Regions from separate parts of the Homo sapiens genome. Here region 2 is linked to region 1. The links are contacts of gene promoters, found by promoter capture Hi-C in human tissues and cell types (Jung and others, 2019). All regions are on one chromosome and are shown on one strand. The core of a region is centred on a gene start or on the middle of the fragment in contact, and the rest is flanking DNA. Distances in the headings are between cores, read along the strand shown. Region 1 holds the start of PRC1 (protein regulator of cytokinesis 1). Region 2 overlaps IQGAP1 (IQ motif containing GTPase activating protein 1).

The links. The method cuts DNA at HindIII sites, captures the fragments that hold promoters and counts their contacts. A contact is called where the count stands out against the background at its distance.
Region 2: a fragment that was not itself captured here is called in contact with the fragment with the promoter of PRC1 in region 1 in 1 of the 25 tissues and cell types used here (spleen).

The regions. Positions count from the first base shown.
Region 1 is chr15:90,992,046-90,999,050 of GRCh38, forward strand. PRC1 (protein regulator of cytokinesis 1) reads right to left here and starts at 2,490. Exons shown (of 15, transcript NM_003981.4): 1 at 2,362-2,490. The coding sequence starts at 2,372. LOC124903556 (a long non-coding RNA gene) reads left to right here and starts at 2,734. Exons shown (of 2, transcript XR_007064759.1): 1 at 2,734-2,890; 2 at 5,298-5,580. VPS33B (VPS33B late endosome and lysosome associated) reads right to left here. Exons shown (of 23, transcript NM_018668.5): 23 at 6,628-7,005. The coding sequence ends at 6,930. RefSeq lists enhancers at 1,796-2,663, 2,664-3,530 and a silencer at 2,027-2,246. The HindIII fragment of the contact is 8,571 bases long and covers 1-7,005 here.
Region 2 is chr15:90,476,831-90,483,792 of GRCh38, forward strand. IQGAP1 (IQ motif containing GTPase activating protein 1) reads left to right here. Exons shown (of 38, transcript NM_003870.4): 25 at 237-400; 26 at 835-1,059; 27 at 5,130-5,270; 28 at 5,367-5,451; 29 at 6,531-6,763. Among named protein-coding and RNA genes, the nearest start is that of CRTC3, 50 kb to the right of the region's middle. The HindIII fragment of the contact is 5,949 bases long and covers 2,350-6,962 here.

The sequences.
Region 1 (7,005 bases), core at 1,240-3,739:
CCTTAGGGCACTTGGATTTGCTGATTCCTCTACCTAGATCTCTTTTCCCCCATGCTGCATGGCTTCACCCTTTTCCTTCTTAGGTCTTTGCTCAGAGATCACCTTCTCAGGGAGGCCTTTCCTGACCCATCTCTTTAAAACCACAACCCCCCTTCCTACACCTTCAGTACTTCTTAACCTCTTGATTTCTCTACATAGCACTTACCACCATTTAAGACTAACTTATTTATTACACTCCTCTTTTGCTATTAGAATATAAACTCTGTGAGGGCAGGGATGTCACTTTTGCTCACTGCTATATCCCCAACACTTGCAATGGTTCCTTGTATATAACAAACATTCAAGAAGTATTTTTCTTTTCTTTTTTAGTATAAATTATTATTTTTTAAATAGAGACAGGGTCTTGCTATGTTGCCCAGGCTGGTCTTGAACTCCTGGGCTCAAGTCATCCTCCCACCTTGGCCTCCCAAAGTGCTGGGATTACAGGTGTGAGCCACTGTGCCAGGCCCAAGAAGTCTTTTTGAATGAATAACGTGACATTTCAAAAAAGTTGTATGATCTTAAGATGCTTCAGAGCAATCATTATGAACAATTATCATGATACACTTAAATACTCCCTGGCTAAATTGTTTCAGATAATCCCCTAAAAGCAGCAAGTCTGAGTTTTTTTTTTAGATTCACTGAAAAAAATCAAGAGTGCATACAAAGACTACCACTCAAGGACAAAAAGGTTGTAAAATGAGTCAGTTTTTCCAGTCTTGAACATAAATCACTGGACTGGAAGGTATCTCACAGTGGTCCTTAAATTATTTTCTACCTTCAGGCAGCCTTCACTGATCCACTGCCCTATTTTTTCTTAGCATTCCAGAGAAGGAGCTTTGTTGATCTCCAGTTCAACCTGTTTCGGGGATCGATAACCATAATTAATTCTGGCCAGAGTTTCGTTTGAGCCTCAGAGGTCAAAGCTGCAGTGAGCAATCTCGCCACTACACTCCAGCCTGGGCGACAGAGTGAGACCCCGTCTCAAAAAAAAAAAAAAAAAAAAAAAAAAAAAAGTTAATTATATCCATTAGCCTGGAACCAACATTAAAGGGTAAGTTTTCTCCTGCTTCATTCAATCCCTTGATAGAGGAGATGCCTACATAATTCATAAACTGTTAATGGACTTTTTTTTTTTTTTTTGAGACGTAGTCTCACTCTGTCGCCTAGGCTGGAGTGCAGTGTCGAGATGTCGGCTCATGCAACCTCTGCCTCCTAGGCTGAAGCGATTCTCCTGCCTCAGCCTCCTGAAAAGCTGGGGGTACAGGCGCGCCACCAGGGCCAGATAATTTTTGTATTTTTAGTTAAGACAAGGTTTTACCATGTTGGCACTCAATTCTCATTATTCTGAGGGCAAGCATTTTAAAAAGACTGATCAGAATTAGTGATCATGAAATGAAGAATCTTACAAAGCCTTAGAACAATCAGTTCCACCAAAAACTACACATTATTTAACGCTGTATCATCAGAAAACTGCATCCACAACTTTTAGAAAATAAAGTTAATATTTGGAAGTCACAAGGTTGGTAAGTGGCAGTGTCACCGTCTGGTCCCGATTTCAAGTCGGACAGTCCCTCCCCAACACCGCCTAGGAAGTTATTAAAACGACCGGAAAAGAATTCCATAATCCGTTTCTTAACTTGCAAAGAAACAAAGCTATCTTTCCAATTCAAACAAAACGTTAACACCGCTGGCCAGATATAAAGAAAAACAACGGGCCGGGCACGGTGGCTCACGCCTGTAATCCCAACACTTTGGGAGGCCGAGGTGGCAGGATTACTTGAAGCCAGGAGTTCGAGACCAGCCTGGCCAACATAGACCGCGTTTCCACAAAAATAAAAAAAAAGAATAAAACAAAGAAAAACAACGATAAATAAACTTAACAGCTTTAAAGAAAAGCCACGACCACAGAAGGTTTACAACGAGTCATCTGCGCCAAGCAGCGGCACCTGAGACGCTGCGGGCGGGGAGGGTGGGGTCCGAGCGCCAGCGCTGACCGCCTGGGTGGAGGCCGCCCCGGGCCCCGGGCCTCGACTACCCTGCCGCGTCCGGGCACCGGCGCTCGGCTCCCACCCGGGCGTCTGAGCCTGCGGGCACCTGCGGCCGCCGGCGGACAGCGCGTCAGGTCTCACCGCCGCGGCCCTCGCACTGGCTCGCCGCCTCCAGACCCTGCCCCTCAGCGCCCCCGGCCTCCCTCGGCGCCGACTGCCGTGACGATCTAGGCCCGGGACCCCGCACGGGTCCCGCACCCCTGAACAGGCCCCGCAGCCGAAACGAGCGTCGCTCCCTCCCGCGTCCCCTCGATTTCCCCGCAACCCGCACCTTCTCCTCATGGCGGACGCTCCAAGCAGCCGTGAGTCCAGGTCCAGACCTACTCCACACGGCCCCGAGAGCAACAACCACCCGCAAACACCGGCGATGTCACTCCGCGTAGCCGCTCCGCGAGCCGTTGAGCCCCGCAAAATTTCAAACCGCGCCACGGGGCGAAGCCTCGTCGCGATTGGCGTCGCGTCCCGTCGCTCCAAGAAAATCCCCGCCCCTCGGGCTGAAGTCGCGGGTGCGCAATCGGGGTGGGGACTCGCGAGCAGGGCCTGGGAAGCGCCGGAGTGGCGGCGGGGGATGACGTCACTGTCTGTGAGTGGCCGGGCGTGGCCTGCGCCTCCCGCTTCCCTGGCTTGGCGGCAGCCTCAAGGGACTCCTCTCCCAAGCCAGCTACCTCATCGGAGCGCCGCCCCGCCTCGCCCCGCGCAGTTTGGATTCGAAGTGCGCGGGCGGGGAGGGAGTTGAGAGCACCGCGGCTACCTGGCTTCCCTGAGTCCCGGCTGCCGGGAACGGGCGCGGGGGTGAATAGGTAAGTTAGCGCCTAGTTTCCCTCGCTCATCCAAGAAGCGAAGCTTGGAATCGATCTTTGGTGGGACTCTTCCCCAGATGTAAGAAGCCATACACTAAAGGGGAAGGGAAGGAACATTGAGTCCTGCTCATGGGCCTGGAACGTTTCAACGCCAGTTATCCCATTTAACCTCCACAATCGCCATTGCAGAGGAAACGCAAAAAGATTTGAATGATTTGCCTAAGTCACGTTATCAAATTAGATGAGTTTCTAAATCGTTACATGAAAAATTTAAAACTCAAAATAGACATTACTTTTGTAGCCTCCTTTCCTCGATGAACATGTTACATCCCTAAATGCTTATATATCACCGTTTTTTCCCAGTGATTCATGGTGGCATGGTGGCATGAATCCTGGTGTGTAGATATCTCGCCCATTCTGCTATTGATATTTAGATGATAATTTAAAAGATAAGGCTGGGCTGAATATCTTCATACATAAATCTTTGTGTATGTATGTATTTATAAATGCATCCTGCATTTTCGTACGGCTGATTCCTAGAGGTGTAATTACTGAATGCTCCCTTTATTAATTTGCCTTCTGCACAAAGCCTCACCGGAAAAGTACCCTCCTTTTGTTACCCTCAGCAGGGCTGAATTCTATTGTACTTCTAAACATCTTTGCTCATTTTGTAGGTAAAATAATAATACTGGCATTTCCTTGTTTGGCACTTGATTATAATTGAAATTGCACATTTTTCGTGTTTATTGGCCAACTGTAACTTAAGTGAATCCTCTTCATATGCCTTTTCCCTAAAGGTAAAGGATGCTTGTTTGCTTCACCTTCAGAACCATATTTTTCTTATTTTCAGAAAAACTTCATTAGTGCTTTCAATGTTCTTTTTACTTTTTTTAATTGAGACGGAGTCTCGCTCTGTCACCCAGGCTGTAGTGCAGTGGCCCAATCTCAGCTCACTGCAACCTCCGCTACCTGGGTTCAAGCAATTCTTGTGCCTCAGCTTCCCGAGTAGCTGGGACTACAGGCACGCACCACCATGCCTGGATACTTTTTTTTTTTGTATTTTTAATAGAGACGGGGTTTTGCCATGTTGGCCAGGCTGGTCTTGAACTCCTGACCTCAGGTGATCCGCCTGCCTCGGCCTCCCAAAGTGTTGGGATTACAGGCGTGAGCCAACGCGCCCGGCTTCCATGTTCTTTTTAACTTGTCAGCAGCATGCCAAACATTCACAGCACCAACACAGTGGGCGACAGGCACCACTTTTTCAATTTCCTTGCACTCTGTGATTAACATTGACACCACTAATAGAGTAGATGGTAGCACTACTTTTAAAATTTACTTGCATTCTTTGTTGATTAAATTAACAGGAGAGCTTTTCAGAAAGCTTCACAAATTTGTGATCTTCATACTTGTTCTTAGCACCAGCATTATGAAGTATCCAAAGAAAAGGCAATTTTTTCTCTCTTGTCCTTTACACTGAGGTGCTGAGGCTAACAAAGTCATAGAACTGATGCAAAGATATCCATTCAGAGCATAAACGCAGCATGTAAAACACTGTGTAATACGCGTTTATAATATATGACCTTAGCCTGGGCACTGTGGCAAAACCCTGTCTCTATAAAAAATACAAAAATTAGCCAGGTGTGGTGGTATGAGCCTGTAGTTCCAGCTACTTGGGAGGCTGAGGTGGGAGGATCACTTGAGCCCAGGAGGTCAAGGCTGCAGTGAGGCATGGTCACGCCACTGCACTCCAGCCTAGACGACAAAGCAAGACCCTTTCTCAAAAAAAAAAAAAAAAAAAAAAAAAAATCCTATTACAGGGTCATATATTTCTACTGGATGGAAGTGCAATGTTTTGCCACTGTTTAATCTTTTTCTGATGCCACCTATTCTTTCTGTGAATTAACAGCCCTGTTGGCAGTGTCTTTGGTCTTGCACACTAGCTTGACATAACACTCAAAATTCTAGCTAGATGCTTGAGGAATGCCTTTTCCTTGGAATATATTCTTATACAGAATTATCATTATTCTTATTTATTTATTTATTTTTTGAGACAGAGTCTTGCTCTGTTGCCCAGGCTGGAGTCCAGTGGCATGATCTCGGTTCACTGCAGCCTCTGCCTCCTGGGTTCAAGCGATTCTCCCACCTCAGCCTCATGAGTAGCTGGGACTACAGGTGCGCGCCTCCACAGCTGGCTAATTTTTATATTTTAGTAGAGACAGAGTTTCACCATGCTGGCCAAGCTGGTCTCAAACTCCTGACCTCAAGTGATTTGCCTGCCTCGGCCTCCCAAAGTGCTAGGATTACAGGTGTGAGCCACCGTGCGGGGCCCAGAATGATCATTATTCTATAGGAAGAATACTTTTGATGATCCAGTAACTCAGGTTTTGATTTTCTTTCTTCCTTTTAGTAAGTGGCAGCACTGTGGAATGGGGAACAGATGGAAGAATGAGCAGCTGGGAGGCACACTCTTGCAAAAACCCAGGCAAGAGACAATAAAGACCTCTGTCGTAGGGATGGTGAGGAGAAGATGAACTAGAGACATTTAGAAATAAGAACCAATAGCACAAGGGAACCAGCTGAAGGTGGGGCATAGAAAGAAAAAATCTGAGGTCAAGAATACAATTTTTTGCTCATTTGAACAAAGTTTGGGAATACAGGAAGAAGAGCAGATTAAAGGATTCAAGTAGGGACAGGAGCTTCCACTCATGAGTTTATTTTGTACATGCTGAGTTTGAAGTGCCTGTGGAATGACCAGGTAGGAAATACTTGTGTGGCGCTAAGGAGTGAGATGAAGGCTTGAGATCTGGAAGTGGATGACAACAAAGGACAGAGAGAGGGGAGATGTCAGCAAATGGGATGAGCAGAGAGGAGTAATCAAAGAACAACCTAAGAGACTGTGGGAGGACAAAGAAAGGGTATTATGGAAGCTGAATAAGACAATTTCAAGGAAAGCATAGTCATCAGTGAGATCAAGTTGGAAGAGGCCTGAAAAGAGGCCACTAATATAGGTGGTTGTAATTCCTTCTTTTTTTTTTTTTTTTTGAGACAAGGTCACAGCTTACTGCAGCCTCGACCTCCTGGGCTCAAAGGATCCTCCCACCTCAGCCTCCCCAGTAGCTAGGAATACAGGTGTGTGCCACCACCCTCGGCTAATTTTTTTATTTTTTGTAGAGACGGGGTCTTCCCATGTTATCCAGGCTGGTCTCAAACTCCGGGGTTCAAGCGTTCCTCTTGCCTCGGCCTCCAAAAGTGCAGTGATTACAGGCATGAGCCACAGCACCTGGCCTATATTTCATCATTTTTAAAAGGTAAAGAGAGAGAGAAAGGCTACTAGCATCAGTAATGAGGAGGGTGCTGGCACATTTATAGGAGCACTGTTTGCTGATGCCTGAAATGGCTCTAATGGCACACAATCTTTCATTCTGCAATAAGAAACAAACGCTTAAAATTGAAGTGCCTCCTTAAATTAAAACAACAAAGTCATTTTCTCAAAAATGTAATGAATCACAACATTTTAGAACTGGAAACGTGCTTGCTGGTCACCTCAGCCATCTCCCTCATTTTATGGTAGAGGAAACTCAGGTACAGAGTGGTAGAGTGATTTTTACAGGGAAGAACCAGACCAGGCCTGGAGCCACTACAAAGTCCAGGCCAAGAAGCACAGGAAGCCCCTGTAGCAAGCTCCAATGGGCTTTCACTAATAAAGATGGAAGTGCGTGTCCAGAACGACCAACGTATTACATCTGAGAGCAGAGGCTTTATTTACAATGACATTCAAACAGGATTTAGCAAAGGATGCCTCTTCCTGCTCGCATCTTAGCAGCATGGGTTGTACTTCATAAACAGAAAAGAGAAATATCCTGGGAGCAGGAAGTGAACTCTTTTCTCAGATAATGTTCTCTAAATCCCAACACGTTCCATGCTCCCGGCTCTTAGCAGGTAGTTGGTGGACACTTGGTTATAGCAGCTGGGTGCCAGATGCCTGCATCTCACTGAGGAATGTGTTCAGGGAAGATGTCAACACTGGCCGGGAAAAACATCAGGCTTTCACCTCACTCATGGCCTCCATAAGGCGAGCGCTGTTTGTGACTGCTGTCGTCAGGAAAATGAACCTG
Region 2 (6,962 bases), core at 4,074-6,573, 510 kb before region 1:
TGGAATCAGTGTTATAAAAATTTAGTGAATTTATTTTTCCACAAGAAAGCCTTACCATCGATCTCTCTGGAAGTATTTTTGACTTCCACTGAGGGGTGAGTGAGGGGCACTGTAACATGTTAATTTATTAATCTTTTTTCTCATATGTATTGTAGTCCTTCAATTTTAAATAATTGAATATATCTTGCCAGCCTTTATATTACCTACAAATGACTTATCCCTTGGTTTTATTTCAGACCAATCCCACCTATCTGGCCAAGCTCATTTTTCAGATGCCCCAGAACAAGTCCACCAAGTTCATGGACTCTGTAATCTTCACACTCTACAACTACGCGTCCAACCAGCGAGAGGAGTACCTGCTCCTGCGGCTCTTTAAGACAGCACTCCAAGAGGAAATCAAGTATGAACAGATTTCCTCAGGGCACAGGCCCCTTCCCACTATCAGAGGGGCTCCCAGTTTGAGATTCATGCCTTCCTGATCTTTTCTTGATCTCAATTAATTTATGAAAAATACTTACTCTAAAGAAGCATCTAATTTTTAAATAACTGATATAAAATCTTGCTGCTTCTAGGGAAGGGATAAATTAACTTTAGGAACATTCTGTATTAAGGTATAATTTCAAAAAGTAATCTGAACAGAAAGAATTCACATTTTTATCTAGTAGCGGACCCAATCATGACCACGATTGAGCGTGCAGCTGCAGGAACATTCTGTGAGTGCTGGGGAATGTTTCGAGAGAAACTGTTTCAGGGAGATAGGATCTTTAAGCAGGAAGGATCTTTTAAGTTGATGGGTTTTGTGACAAGTTTAAATTTTTATCTGATGTTTTATAGGTCGAAGGTAGATCAGATTCAAGAGATTGTGACAGGAAATCCTACGGTTATTAAAATGGTTGTAAGTTTCAACCGTGGTGCCCGTGGCCAGAATGCCCTGAGACAGATCTTGGCCCCAGTCGTGAAGGAAATTATGGATGACAAATCTCTCAACATCAAAACTGACCCTGTGGATATTTACAAATCTTGGGTTAATCAGATGGAGTCTCAGACAGGAGAGGCAAGGTATGTTAACCATAATGACACTTTTCTTTCATGTTGTTATAGTCTTTCCCTCTTTTTTCCCCTCTCTTTATTTATAAACTAATATTAGTTCAAATAGTTTTTCTTTTCTTTTCTTTTTTTAGACAGAGTTTCACTCTTGTCGTCCAGGCTGGAGTACAGTGGCATAATCTCAGCTCACTGCAGCCTCCACCTCCCAGGTCTAAGCAATTCTCATGCCCCAGCCTCCCGAGTAGCTGGGATTACAGTTGCACGCTACCACACCTGTCTGATTTTTGTATTTTTAGTAAGACTGGGTTTCACCATGTTGGCCAGACTGGTCTCGAACTCCTGACCTCAGGCAATCCATCTGCCTCGGCCTCCCAAAGTGCTGTGATTACAGCTGTGAGCCACCACACCCAGCCTCAAATAGTTTTTCTTTAGAAAACTGTGCTTTCTAAGTTGTTGACCTAGTAATAAATTCACTTATTTAGCAAATATTTATTGAGTATTAACTATGTGCCAGGCATTGTGTTAGAGATGTGTACAGTAATGCAATAATGAGTGAAACAGACATGCTTCCTGCCCTCTCTTCATAGTTCATTGGGTGGAAGAGACACCAACCAGGTACATAAAAATAAAAGCATAATTAAACATTGAAGAAAGTTTTATGAAGTTTTATGTACGGTTCTTTAATGGAGACTTTATAAGAGGGAGCTAACATAAGGTGGTTAGGGAAAGCCTATCCCGGAAGATAAAATTTCATTTAGCTGAGGCCCTAAAGCTAAGATGAACCCAGCCTTACTAAGAGCTAGGTGCAGAGTGTTTATGTCTGAACACTCTAAGCTGGAGGGTGTAGGACTTAAATGGACCCTGGCATAACTAGGGATACAGTTGAATGAGAAGGTTCATATAGATTGGGTGAGATCACTGTGTTTCATTAAAGGAAAAAGAAAACGGTGTGGAGTGAGCTTCCCTGAAATATCGTGAGTTGGGCTAATTAAATTAACGTATTACAGGAGATAGCTGAGCTAGGGCCATAGCGTAACCACCAACATTCATTTATCTAAAGCAAAAGTGTGCCAATCAAATATTGGTAATGCTGGGAAAAGGGAGTTCAGAATGCCAAAACGTTTCTGGTTTTATTTGTCTTGGGTGAGGACCCAGAGGGGTGGGAGATGGAGGTGTGAGCAGCATGGTCTGTTGTGGTTTTTTCTTGTTGTGGAGTAGAGTTAGATCATGCATGAAGCTCTCTGGGCATAGGTGGAGTAGCAGCTGTCCACACCATTGCTATTCAAAGTGTGGTTTGCACACCAGTAATGGAAAATCATCTGTGCACACTGTTTAGTTTAACTGATACTTTTTTTTTCATAGCAAGATTTTCTTAATGAAGGAAGTAATGTATTGATTTACATTCTGACTCATTGTCTTTATCTTGTCTTTGATCAGTTTGTAGACTGGCACTGGTCCACACTTTGAATAACACTATTCTTCATTCTACTTTCCATGTACCCGGATGCCAGGCAAACAGGGAGTTTTACGCTGGGTGGAGAACGGAACATTCTGCTGACTCCTTGAAAGGGCTTATCTCACCAGCCATGGTAGCTCACGACTGTAATCCCAGCTCTTTGGGAGGCTGAGGTGGGAGGATTGCTTGAGCTCAGGAGTTTGAGACCAGCCTGGGTAACATAGGGATACCTTGTCCCTACTTAAAAAAAAAAAAAAAAAAAATTAGCTGGGTGTGGTTGTGCACACCTGTAGTTCCAGCTATTCCAGAGGCTGAGGCAGGAGGATAGGTTGAGCATGGGAGGTTGAGGCTGCAGTGTGCCTTGATGGCGCCACTGCACTCCATCCTGGTTGACAAAAAAAGAAAGAAGGGGCGTTTCCTTATTAGGAATCATTTGGCATCTGATTGGTTCTCAGTACCATGTAGGTCTGTTATCAGGACTCAGATCATTGCAAAAGTCTTTTTAATTTTTTTGCCTGCATACCTGAGGCCCACATCCAGGAATGTGGTCAGCCAAGTGCAATACTTGTCTGGGAAGTTTTGCCTGCAACCCAGGGCATTCCTTGCCGATAGCCCCATGTACACTGGCTCCGGGCTTCTCAGTTATTTCCTCTGATGGTCCATGAGTCAGTCATTTTCAGATCCAAAGCCCGCTGGACATTTCAGGATTGGTTTTCTTGTGGGTACCTATAAGAAACTGGTGTCTTATTTTGCCTTTCATAAAATGGAAATTGAGCCAGGCATGGTGGCATGCACCAGTAGTCCCAGTTGCTCAGGAGGCCAAGACAGGAAGATCGCTTGAGCCCAGGAGTTTGAGCACTGCCTGGGCAATGTAGACCCCATATCTTAAAAAAAAAAAAAAAAAAAAAGGAAATTGATTTGAACTCTTTTTAAGATACCAGTGACTGTGAGGGATGGTGGTGTGGTGGGGATCTGTCCTGCAGGTAAGCATCACAGGTCCCTTAGCTTTCTTCTTTTACTTCAGCCACCATACACGTAGCAAACTGGAATCTTGTCACCTCTTGGGAATGTTCTTTCCTAAAATCTCAAAGTTAATGTTCTGTTCTATCACCAACGTTTTTTAGCATATTGATTCCCTTGCTGGTTACTACTTTTAAAACTCATATAAATAATAAAATATACAATATTCTTTATTGTTAAGTTCCATGTATTTATTTATTTCTCATAGAATGTTTCTGTTGATTTTTGCAGAATTTTTGTGTTCATAGTCTACCAATTTTAATTTAGCCATGCTATGACAAATGAAGAGGGGTATCCCTATCTACTTGTATTTTTCTTTTTGTTGTTGTGGTTGAGACAGAGTCTCGTTCTGTTGGTCAGGCTGGAGTGCAATGGTGTAATCTCAGCTCACTGCAACCTCTGCCTCCCTGGTTCAAGCGATTCTGCTGCCTCAGCCTCCCGAATAGCTGGGATTACAGGCATGCGCCACACGCCTGGCTAATTTTTGTATTTATAGTAAAGATGGGGTTTCTCCATGTTGGCCAGGCTGGTCTCAAACTCCTGACCTCAGGTGATCCACCCGCCTCGGCCTCCCAAAGTGCTAGGATGACAGGCGTGAGCCACCACACCCGGCCTCTACTTGTATTTTCTAAGGCTGCCATAACAAATCACCTCAAATTGGGTGGCTTAAAACAACCGAAAGTCATGGTCTCACAATTGTGGAGGCCAGAAATTTGAAACCATTATCATGAAGTCGAGGTGCTGGAAGAGCCACGCTCCCTGCAGAGGCTCTAGTGGAAACTCTGTTTCTTGACTCTTAGAGCTTGTGGTGACTGTTGACATCCCTCAACTTGTGGCTGTGTGGTTCCAGCCTCTGCCTTTGTGGTCACATTGCCTTCTCTTCCCCTTCTGTGTGTACCAAAGCTCTCTCTGCCTCTTTTTTTTTTTTTTTTTTTTTTTTTTAAGACAAGGTCTTGCTCAAGCAGTCCTCCCACCTCAGCCTTCCTAGTAGCTGGGAATGCTAGCATGTGCTGCTGTGCCTGGCATAGCACTCCTATCCTTGAAGACCTCCTTCTGGTTTCTAACAAAGTCCAGATTTGTCAGTATCATATACGGGGTCTGTCATGGCCTGCTCCCTGTCTGCTTTTCCACTGTCATTTCTCCTGTCTCCCCTTCCTTCCTAGAAGACTCTTCCTCTCCTTTTTTCCTGAGTTCAAGCATCCCTTCGTTTTGGAAGCTTTCCTTGCTTTTTCCATTCTGAGTTGAAGCCCTTTCCCTATGGTCCTGTGGCACTTTTGGTGAACTGATTTACAGCACAATAGGTTTATAATCATCTGTTTGTGTGTCGCTCCCACCAGACTGTAAAAGACTGAAGAGAAGGTGTCATGTCTTGTATAACTTTTATTCCCAAGTGCCTGTTATTGTGCCTGGCACACAATTCAGGCACCTGATTCACAGTTAAAAACCTGCGTTCAGATTCTAGACTTATCACTTACCAGCCCCGTGAGGATGAGCTTAAGCTATCTAATATTTCTGGGTCTTATAGTTTATGAAAGATAAGACACTTGCTTCAGGCTGTTCCTGGCTGTTAGTCTAACATAGTTGGGTATAATTTCTGTCTTCCCAGCAAACTGCCCTATGATGTGACCCCTGAGCAGGCGCTAGCTCATGAAGAAGTGAAGACACGGCTAGACAGCTCCATCAGGAACATGCGGGCTGTGACAGACAAGTTTCTCTCAGCCATTGTCAGCTCTGTGGACAAAATCCCGTGAGTGCCATCAGTTGTCATGACCCCCAGTAGAACCCAGCACTAAGTGCCTTTCTGCTCCTTGGCCCTTCTCACTAAGTTTTGTCCATCCCGCAGTTATGGGATGCGCTTCATTGCCAAAGTGCTGAAGGACTCGTTGCATGAGAAGTTCCCTGATGCTGGTGAGGATGAGCTGCTGAAGGTAAGAATCTCATAGCCGGCAGACTCCTGCCCTTTGAGGACAAAGCAATAAAACCAGGGCTGACCATAGATCATTACTAACTGCCTAAGTGTAGGTTCTGGCAGTAGCTTACCATTGATTGTGAGCTTTTGAAAGCAATTGTAATTGGTAAATGGTACCTCTCTTAGGATGAAACACTTCCTATAGTTTGGCACACAAACATCAAACAAGTAGAAAGATGGATTTTTCCTGTTTTCAGATGAGTTTCTTTGAGTCCTATCTTTTCGCTGTAGTATTGTTCCCTCTGCTGGTGACCTGGCGAATAGTAGCAGGCACAGTTGTTTCTGCTAAGGCTGTTGCTGATAACTCTTTCTTACTCAGCTATGCTCTTCTCTTTTCTTTTTTTTTTTAATCTGAATGCTTTTTTCTTCTCTCTCCTAGTTCTGTGCTTTCCTACAGTGAGGCCTCGATTCTAGACTTTCTGTTCAGGTGAATTAATTTTATTTCTTCTGAATGAAACTCTAGGGGAAATGCTGTGACTGCCCCTGAATTCTTCTGTGGAAGAGATGTGTGTTAAGTGAATTTAATTTCAGAGGCATGAACTTGGCCTTTGAAGTCTGCAGCATGAGAATGTTGGGAGGTGGGGTTACTCTATGCTGATTGGGTCATGTTAAGGAATTTAGCTATGTTTGTTAGCTTTTTATAAGGAAAGCCCATCTACATGAAAGTACAAAGTGCATGTGGGTGACAGCAGCCTTATTTGCTACCATGATATGTGAACAAAAGATGCCCTGAAATACTTAATAACAGACTTTAAGTGTGTCATTTTTACCTTCTGAATCTGCTCTTTCATTAACTACTGGCAGTAGTTTTCAGTTCTGTTCTCATTGTTTTCCTGTATTGAACAAAGGGATATTTCATTTAGTTCCAGGCCATGAGAGAGAGTGTGTATATGTGCATGCATGCGTGTGTATATGTATTTTTTATTTATTTTTTCCTCATAGGACTGCATTTTCTGCTTTTCTTTGCTAGCAAAGTCATTTATAGCTTCCTTGGTGGTATGTCTTTTAATACCCATCTTTCTGTTTCGTCTGTTCCAGATTATTGGTAACTTGCTTTATTATCGATACATGAATCCAGCCATTGTTGCTCCTGATGCCTTTGACATCATTGACCTGTCAGCAGGAGGCCAGCTTACCACAGACCAACGCCGAAATCTGGGCTCCATTGCAAAAATGCTTCAGCATGCTGCTTCCAATAAGATGTTTCTGGGAGATAATGCCCACTTAAGCATCATTAATGAATATCTTTCCCAGTCCTACCAGAAATTCAGGTAAGGGGAAAGGCACAAGTGCTTAAGAGAGTCTGTGGATGTATTTTTATTGTTGAGGGGAAAAATAAGATTAAAAACCACCTCTCACTTTCCCCGGACTGCCATATGTAGAAGACGTGTTTGATGTGCCCAGGATTCCAGAAGATGATCCATTTACTTTGAAGAGAATTTTCATATGAAATAGATAGTAGTTAACACT